Regions from separate parts of the Homo sapiens genome. Here region 1 is linked to region 2. The links are contacts of gene promoters, found by promoter capture Hi-C in blood cells and fetal thymus (Javierre and others, 2016). All regions are on one chromosome and are shown on one strand. The core of a region is centred on a gene start or on the middle of the fragment in contact, and the rest is flanking DNA. Distances in the headings are between cores, read along the strand shown.

Evidence for each region. The method cuts DNA at HindIII sites, captures the fragments that hold promoters and counts their contacts. A CHiCAGO score of 5 or more calls a contact.
Region 1: a fragment that was not itself captured here is called in contact with the fragment with the promoter of YEATS4 in region 2 in 1 of 17 cell types (fetal thymus); the score reaches 5.1 in fetal thymus.

Annotation. Positions count from the first base shown.
Region 1 is chr12:69,693,718-69,698,861 of GRCh38, forward strand. BEST3 (bestrophin 3) reads right to left here. Exons shown (of 10, transcript NM_032735.3): 2 at 3,930-4,096; 3 at 653-747; 4 at 1-190. The coding sequence starts at 4,081. Among named protein-coding and RNA genes, the nearest start is that of BEST3, 3.0 kb to the right of the region's middle. The HindIII fragment of the contact is 303 bases long and covers 3,185-3,487 here.
Region 2 is chr12:69,357,694-69,362,542 of GRCh38, forward strand. YEATS4 (YEATS domain containing 4) reads left to right here and starts at 2,050. Exons shown (of 7, transcript NM_006530.4): 1 at 2,050-2,330. The coding sequence starts at 2,280. RefSeq lists enhancers at 1,794-2,397, 1,955-2,144, 2,398-2,999 and a silencer at 2,425-2,584. The HindIII fragment of the contact is 4,618 bases long and covers 1-4,170 here.

The sequences.
Region 1 (5,144 bases), core at 2,086-4,585, 340 kb after region 2:
GCAGTGCTCACCGAGCGAAAGATGAGCAGGGAGGTGAGATTGACGTAGCGCATCAGCGTCCTTCTAAGCAGGCGCCCGTGCTCGTCGCTTCCGTGAACACTGCTAGAGATGAGGAACATTAGCCTGTCTGGCCAGGGCAAATTCACAAACTGGTTCCACCATCGGTTCACTACCAGAGTAACATAAAACCCTGTAGAATAACAGGAAATTATAAAGCAGTTTCTTACAGCAGACACGTTGGTGACACTGATGCTTTTAGCTGAATTTTAGCCTTTTTAGAGGTTGGAGGACAAAAATATATTATTATCCATATCTTCTGATTTTGCCTTCCAGAAAAAAAATGTCATTTGTGCCTGGCAATGCCTAAGCACCCTGTAAGTGGGTATTAGATCTCAAATATTGACTGCAAAAATGGAGAGTTAGTGAAGAGAAAGCTTAAATGTCCAATAGCAGATTATTTCCTCAAACTTGTTTGGTGTTAATTTCGCAAAAGCAGCCGTGAAGGCAAACCTTATGGATGATTCTGGTTCTATTGCAAGCGGTGGCTTTTCAGGCATGCCTCTCAGCTTGGAAACACTCCCATGCAGAGTCATCGGTGTCATCCTAACGGAGACAGCTATGTGGCTGCAATCTGCGTGTGACCTATACTTACCAAGCACAAAGGTTACTGGAATTTGTTCAGCATATCTGTCACAGTAAATTGATAATTTTTCAAAGTAACGTTTTTGGACTCCTGTAAGTAACAATCTGGAGCAAAAATAAAATGCACAGCCCTTTATGATATTATACTTCTGCACCTGCTTTGCAAGTGACATTAAGTGCAAACAATTAAGCACAAATAATCTTTTATTTTTGAAGGATCAATAATTTTTTCCTTTTTTCTTAAACTGATGTGTCTCAAAAGCTTTTTAATTGCTTAATGTCTCAAGTGCTAACATTTTGTAAACATGATTGGCTATTAAATAGTGGGATTAATTAATCATTTTATTTTAAAAACTTTATATTTTAAAAGTTTTATATGATTGATTCATTGGATTTAGAGCAAGGTATGTTACAAAATAGTTCAGTTTTCAATTATTCATCAGGAATACCTTAAAAAGAGTGTATTATTGATTAAGTATGAATTAGCATTATTAAGTAATTGTTAAATAATAACACTGAATTTGACACCTTGATATTTCTCCTGAATATGCAACTTAGCACATTCTTGATTATCATGTGTATAATATCCCTTCAAGGGATATTATAACTGTTCATTTTAAAGCCCAGAATTGTTTGGAGTCTAAAACAAATTTAACAATGAGAAATGAAAACTTTCATTATTAAATTTAGTCACTCTCTCAAAATTTATATTATAGATCTAACCCAACCTGCCCAAACCCCATTTTCTGGTATTGTTAAACATAAGTGCATTTAATGAGACTATTATTGATATTTACATTATAGGGAAGAGATTCAGAGTCTGGAGAAATGTTTTAAGGCAAACTAATAATAATGACCAAAATACAGGAAGGAAAGCCAAACAGATGAATTTGAATAAATCGACGAGTGTAGCTGTTCCAAAGGAGGAAGGAACTCAAGGAAAGATCCATTATAACAAGCATCAAAGGCTCATTTGGGTCAGTAGAACTTTGATAAAGGAAGCAAAGGGATAATGAGATAACAGTAAGCAACCAATTAGATTGCAGATAGAGAGCTGTTGGGAGCTGGTCCTGACAAAGAAGGTGTGTGGGGTACAGGGTGAGCTTGGAGTTCCTGCCCCAGCTTTGGAAGAGGTGTTAGAATTACTGAAGTCAGGGAAAGCTGACAGGAGAGGTACCAGATTGTTGCAGAGGTCTATCAGGGTTATGCTGATGACAATTACAGCCAGAATGGTTTCTGATGTTCAAATAGACATGGTCAAAGAGGATTTAAATGTGGAAAGCATGGACCTTTTTTAAGGTCAGACAAAGCCAGATTTTAATTCCAAGTCTGACACTTATGAATTTGGACTTTGAGCATATTTTTGAACTCTCTGAGTCTCAGTTTTCTCATCTGTAAGTGGGGATAAAAATATCTATATATAAGAGGCATTGTAAAGATTAAATAATATATGTATACATATATATAACCACTTAACAAATTGCCTCATACTTAGTTAATAATAAAATGGTTCATATTAATAGTTGGCCAAAGAAAAAATATTTGGCTAATAGATGTAGAAATTTTAATAGCTAGAAAGTATTTCAGAAATTATTTTGTCAAATTCCTCCAAAAATAGAAATAAATGTAATCAAATTAATGAATCTGGTTCCTCCTTATAATTTTTGTTAGGAATAATTATGTACCTATAATAGAGCTAATAAAGACTTAGAGAATGAAACTACATCTATATTTTTCTATAGATGTGTTTGATTTTCTTGACAAACTCATCCTATAGTTCTTGGTATACCTTTGATTAAGATAGAAAGATCTATTTTAATAAGGTATTACAATTGAACTTTAAAAATTTAAGGATGACTTGAACTGATAATTTTTGTTATAAATGTAAGCCCTCTGCTTTAGAAGAAATATATGCATAAAATGTTGTGGGGTATAAGTATGATATTGGAACAAAAGTTGAGGCCCCAAGGAACATTTCTAGCTACATTGCAACTGTACTAAGGGCTATTCTGTTCTATTCTTAGCAGAAGTAGCAGCAATAAATTCACATTAGTAAAAATGAACTAATGAGATAATTATCACGAAACACCATTGTATCTTTTACCATTTCATATTCTGAAGGCTTAGGTGATACCTACCTAAATTGCCAAAATAATATCATATTATATGACATGTCTGAAAAATTATTAGAGGTTGTTAATAGGACTTTCCCTCTAAAAATATTTTGTCAAGATATATACCAATGCATACACTTGCTTGGAAGGGTTGTTTTGACATGTGGAAAAATAGCTGTACCTATTTTACTTTTAATAATTATCAGTCAACTACATTAATATCCCTCTTTTCCAAAGGAGATCCTGTTGCTGCAAGGAAGAATGTGAGAGCAATGAAACACAAATTTGTTTATCTGTATGCAGAAGAAAAATAACAAACTATGAACATAGAAAAAATGGAAATACAGCCTCAAAAACCTTTAGCTTTCCTGTTTTAAATTTTAGCTTCCTCCAGAGAAGAAATTTATGCATTCAATTTTAATAAAAAAAGCTTTAAAATCTCATAAGTCTTCCCTTTTATCATACTGATGAAATTTTATTAAGACTATAACTTTTCATCATAAAAATATTTCTTGGACTTGATATTGCTCAAATTTCCTGTCAATCTGACAGGCATATGTTGTAATGTTATAAAGAATAAGCACCTCCTTTTGTGAACATAATATACCCTCAACTCAGAAAACGGAAAGAAAATAAATTATTCTACAGGCCTTTGCTTTAGTTGAGGTACTGTTAAGTGTGGCAGGCATCATCCTGGATAAGATATTTTCATTCCAGGCCAAAAGAAGGAAAGCTTTTCCCTGACATACACCAATCATGAACATGTTGATTATATAGGTAGTTGCTACAAGCTGTCAAATCATCAACTATGAATGACAAGTTGACAGAAGCACAAATAATTATTGTCTGTGGACTTTGCCCATTCAAAAGTCTTTACACAGTAAAGATCTAAGGATAATCCTTCCATTTTGTGCCTATTGCAACAGTCTCGAGGCACAACTGGGGCTGGAATGAAGGCCACCTGAATCTTAACAGTGAGGGTCTATTTTACAACCTAACAATGGTTAGTGGTGGATTAAAATCTGTCCTGAGGGGAAGAAGACAAATGAGAGGCTCACGCAAAAAAGGAGTTCCATAATGCGAAGTCAGTGGCAATCAAAAGGTTCAGATTTTTGAGACTGTATCTTACACAATATCTGATGGCCATTTAAGGAGACATGTAAAGAAAAGTACCTGTATACCAAACTTATTGCTGTATAAAGAACAGCAAAAACAATAAATTCCCTGTACAGTAGTTTGTAGATGCTGCCTCTCCACTTGAGGAGTAACCTATGAAATCCAAAAAAAGTTGCATTTGCTACTTTACTGGAGTAAGTGACAGTCATCTTGGATAGTTTTTTCTAGAAGAGCAAGAAGACAAAACACAAGTAAAAAGCAATGTTTAAAATAGGGCATAAATCTGTATGTCTGTATATCAAGGAAATTCAAGCCAGCAACTAGTCAGCCATATCTCTGTTTTGTCTTTCTTAGTTTCTATAATTCGGAACTTTCAGATAACCATTATCTCAGTTTAGCAGAAAGCAGGAGGAAAGCAGTCTCTGGGAAGAGTAATATTAGACATCTTAAACTTGCCTTAACTGTTAAATATTATTTTTAGATTATATAGCCATTGGCCAATATATATTTGAATGAACAAATGAGACAAACAAGGCCCTCGTGAGAATTTAATTGATGGGGCACTTTTGGTGGGTTTGATTGCATGTAGATGTCTCTCTAGTGGAGGTCCAAATGCATCGTTAGCACTCATTGCATTTCAAAAGTCAGCCAAAAAGTTGGGTCATAGTGATAAATAAGAATGGTGCAGTTTCCCCATGACAAGTTGTACATAAATGCTTAGGGATGGTTCACATTCTCTTTGGAGTTGAACAAAATGAGGTCATTATTTACAACTCTTTCTACTTGAGTCCATTTCATGAATGTGGTTAGGATGAGCACTGGGCCCAAAAGCCTTGTTTTTGGTGAGTTCTTTGGAATTCCACCACTTTTCACCAAGACATTAAATATTCAGGTTTTGAAACAGACAGCGCAAAGCTAATCTTTGAAAATCTTGCTCAATTTCTGGCTAAGATAGAACATATGCAAATAAAATGAGATTTATTTAAAATCTTACTTTTCTCAAAAGGATCTATGAGGAGAGTCTTATAGAGCTACTTAGACTGAAATCATGAAGCTTTTAGATAGAATTGTACTAGACACAAAAAATAAATTCTGTAGCAGATTTCTTTTGTAAAGTAGCCTACACCACACATTTTATCATAAACAAGAAAATTTTCTATCTTTACTCATTGCTGGAAAAACAATTCAACTCTGATTTGCCTATTTTCCCTAAGGAAATGAAACTCTGGAGCTACGTTTACAGCATTTTCTAAAATCACAAACTTAGCTTTC
Region 2 (4,849 bases), core at 800-3,299:
CTTCAAAATTCTTGGACCATTCTGACGTGATTAAACTAAAAACGAATGAGTTTATGCATATCGAGATACCCTGAGGTGTACAAAGGATGAGTCAAGGTAGCGGAGAGAGAGTTGAAGAGTGACAGCTGAGAAACAGAGATAGGACATGTCCAAGAAGTGCCAGGATAACCCAACAACACAGGCTGATTGAGGAAACTGCCAGAGATTAGACAAAGTAGACTGAAGAGGGAAAGCAATGTTTGTTGGAGATTTTGCTTTAGTTTTTGATAAATATTTCTTAGTCATACCAATTGTTTTAAATATAATTACGCCCCCAAACCAAATTTCTACTCTTATTCTGGCAACAGAATAAAAATCAATATCAATGTTTGATCATTTTCAAAGAAACTCAGTTCCTATCTTGGTTGAAATGCAGTGACATCCATATGACAATTGAGCTCTTCATGTGGCACTAATATAACTAAGCCCTGAGCACATCCCTTGCACTTCTATTTAGTGAAGTCTTTTAAAAAGTATTTTCTTTACAGTTGTTAAGTGGAATTACTAAAAATTACAATCAGCAGTATTTTCTACTCTTTTAGCTTATTTTTTAAAATATTTATCTCCATGCTTTTCAATATTACACCTATATTGCTTCTTCTTGATTTTTCCATTTTAAGATACTGACTTCCTACTATGGAAGTTAAAGATTAAGCTCTATTTCCTCCTCCTCCATCCCCATCAAGCATAGTACCCTTCTCCAAAGCCCATCCTTCTAAATGTAATTCTTTTTTTGAGGGGGAGGGGGGATCAATACTCAGTTTTTTTTTGTTTTGTTTTTTTTTTTTTTTTGAGACGGAGTCTTGCTCTGTCACCCAGGCTGGAGTGCAGTGGTGCGATCTCGGCTCAAGGCAAGCTCCGCCTCCCGGGTTCACGCCATTCTTCTGCCTCAGCCTCCCAAGCAGCTGGGACTACAGGCGCCCACCACCACGCTCGGCTAATTTTTTTGTATTTTTAGTAGAGACGGGTTTTCACCGTGTTAGCCAGGATGGTCTCGATCTCCTGACCTCGTGATCCGCCCACCTTGGCCTCCCAAAGTGCTGGGATTACAGGCGTGAGCCACCGCGCCCGGCCAATACTCAGTATTTATGTAACAATAAATACAATTACTTTCCTTTCTTGCACAAGATTTTGTTTTCCCTAGAATTAATAGCTGCATAATTCTTACAGCCGCTTAGTTTTCTGTGTACCTGTCATGAGTTAAACTCCAAACTCTCGGTCAAATCTCCTCTTGATTCAACGCCAGCTGGAATTTTGTCAATCCCATCCTTCTGAAGCAGTGTCTCCCAAAGATTTCTGACCGAATCTAATCTAGATGCGTTGCCGTCTATGCCTATACACAGCTATTGTTCCCGGAGCTCTTTCAGTATCATCTTGGGATCTTACTATTTTCTGTGTTTGTTATTTATTGTATTTCCTGCATTTCATAATTTCCTCCTTCTTGGCTTATTCCCTCATTTTGGTGGATCAGATCTACAGGATCTTCCTGGAGGTACTGAGAAAGGTAAGATAGGTACTATTTTTTGTGTGTAGTGATTTAGCACATCTGAAACTCTATTCTATTCACACACTAGATTGGTAGTTGGATGAGTATTGAAGACTAAATCGGAAGTAATTTTCCCTCAGAGTTTTGAAGACAGTGCCGTATGGCTTCCTAGATTCTAACTGAGCAATCTGAAGCCACTCTGATTCTATAGTCTGTATAACCTGGAAGGGTGTGGGATCTCTTTTTCCTCGATGTTCAGAAAATTCACAATGATATGCCTTGACGTGGATGCTTTAATATTTGTGCTGGGTGCTTAGTAGGATCTTTCAGTGTGGAAACTCATCTCCTTAACATCTGGACAACTTTTTGAAGTCATTTATTATTTCCTGCCTTTCATTTTTTTTTTGGTTTGGAACTCCTGCACTGGTCCTGTGATGTGACTGCAGCCGCCAGGCGCGTGCGCAGTGTACACTGCGTGCGCATACGCGAGCCCGTTGCGCCTGCGCGCGGTGCGGCCGTCGCCCCTCTTTTCGCGGCGTTCTCCACCTGCGCGGGCCTGAATGGCCTTCAGGAGCACAGTCGGCCTGAGGAGTTGACGGTTACTCACCGCCGTGAGCCCAAGTAACTCGCCCTCCTTCGGCTAGAAACCCTCCGCCTGGGCCCGCGCGACAGGAGCGCGGTCTCTGAGGGGAGCGGCGACCCCGCCAGCCCCGGTCTCTTTCCCTGGCGGCGGCGGCTTCTTCCGTGGGACAATATGTTCAAGAGAATGGCCGAATTTGGGCCTGACTCCGGCGGGAGAGTAAAGGTCAGTGCCCGGACCGCCCCTCTTCCGGGGTGGCTCTCCCGCCTCGGTTCCTCCCTGCGCGGCGCGGGGAGGGCCCACTGGGTTTCCTTTCGCGCCTTTTCTCCTCGGGTTTGAACCGTGGTTTCAGGTTGGAGAGCGAGTCAGAGCCATTGAGCGAAAAACCGGCGTTCATTGGGCCCCAACTTCCTCGCGTCACTGCCAACTCCCACCCCCGCCAAAAAACAAACAGATAAATGGTGGCTTGGGGAAACCCGGACGTGGCTGCCAAGGAAACGGGCGACTCCGAGGGCTGGGAAAGCTCAGCTTGGTGCACATTCGCTGCCAATCTAGGTTATTGGTGAAGCGGTGACGCCACCCTCCTGGTGTGAGGATAACAATAACTGTAGCAAACAGTCGCTGAGCGCTTACCCGCAGTATTTCCAAGTGCGGTAACTGAGACACCGAGGCATACGAAAGCTAAGAAAATTTGCTGGAGTTCATGGTGTTCACAAAGCCTCAAAGCAAGAGCATAACACTGTGCCTGGCACATGGGGAACATTCAGTAAATGTCAACTTCTTTTGTTTTTGATGAAATTACCATAGACCCTAGCGTAATGTTTGACATTGTAATATTTATTTCCCTCACACAGCCCCTGGCACGTTAATTTTTTTTTTTTTTTGAGACGAAGTGTCTGTCTTGTTGCCCAGGCTGGAGCGCAATGGCACGATCTCGGCTCACTGCAACCTCGGCCTCCCAAAGTGCTGGGATTACAGGCGTGAGCCACCGCGCCCAGCCGTGGTTCATTCTTTTTAAAGAAAAATTTCCTTTCCTTTATAAATAAAAATCAGAAGGGGTACAAATAGTTGTTTTTATCAGGAGCCAGTGGGTCCTGCCTTAAAAATTAACGTGCAGGGCCGGGCAAGGTGGCTCACGCCTGTAATCCCAGCACTTTGGAAGGCCGAGGAGGGTGGATCACCTGAGATCAGAAGTTCAAGACCAGGCTGGTCAACATGGTGAAACCCCGTCTCTACTAAATATACAAAAATTAGCCGGGCGTGGTGGCGGGCACCTGTAATCCCAGCTACTAGAGGGGCTGAGGCAGGAAAATCGCTTGAACCCGAGAGGCGGAAGTTGCAGTGAGCTGAGATCGTGCCACTGCACTCTAGCCTGGGCGACAGAGCAAGACAATGTTTCTTTAAAAAAAAAATAGCAATAATTAGTAGGTTTTAAAATACTTATGTGTGTGTGTGTGTGTGTGTGTGTGTGTTTTGTTTTGTTTTTTTTTGAGACGGAGTTTTGCTCTTGTTGCCCAGGCTGGAGTGCACTAGCGCAATCTCGGCTCTCCGCAACCTCCACCTCCTGGATTCAAGCGATTCTCCTGCCTCCAAGCGATTCTCCTGCCTCAGCCTCCTGAATAGCTGGAATTACAGGCATGCGCCACCATGCCCAGCTAATTTTGTATTTTTAGTAGAGACGGGGGCTTCTCCGTGTTGGTCAGGCTGGTCTCGAACTCCCGACCTCGGGTGATCTGCCCGCCTCGGCCTCCCAAAGTGCTGGGATTACAGGCGTGAGCCACCGTGCCTGGCCGCTTTTCTTCATTTTTATTGTTGTTGGTTACATTCACTCAGCACTTTTCACATGTGGTAAATCTTGCTCATTGTTCTTCAGATACATTTCTGTAACTGAGCCATTGGTTTCAGATTCATGTGCAACATTCAATATTTTCACTTCAATTGAAATTTTTTATCTTTCCAACATAATCTGTCAATACGCACTGCCTTTGCACTTATCAGATATAAGAAATATGTATGTTAAACTAAGGACAAATGTAGCAAACATGTCATCAGCCACTATTTACCAAGCTTCAGTCATCCAAGTGACTCTTGGCCATTTTTGCCATGTCTGAATTCAACTGTAATATTTATTGTAACATTTACATTTAAATCAGTTTATTTTTTAAAAGCCTCTTTCTAAGCGTTAATGTTTTTTAAATTGTAGGGTGTTTGGTTGTTTTTTTTTTTTTTTTTTTTTGGAGACAGAGGCTCGCTCTGTTGCCCAGGCTGGAGTGCAATGGTATGATCTCGGCTCACTGCAACCTCTGCCTCCCAGGTTCAAGCAATTCTCCTGCTTCAGCCTCCCAAGTAGCTGGGATTACAGATGCACACCACCAAGCCCAGCTAATTTTTGTATTTTTAGTAGAGGTGGGGTTTCACCATCTTGGCCAGGCTGGTCTTGAACCTCTGACCTCAGGTGATCCACCCACCTTGGTGAAATTGTAGGTTTTAATTTCTAGTTACAGTTATTACTATTTTTTAATACTGATTAAACACGTAAGTAAAAAAGTGAAAAATGTTTGACCTTTATTCTACCTCTCACAAATTACTCCTAATATTTATACTATACTTTGGGAAACACTGCCACAGGCTAGGTGATAAGGACATTGCCACAGGTGATGCCAGTCAGAATTGGCCATTTTTATTTCAATGCCTAGCTTTCAGGTGTTTAAGAAAAGGCCTTTTGCATTTCTTTTAACAACACT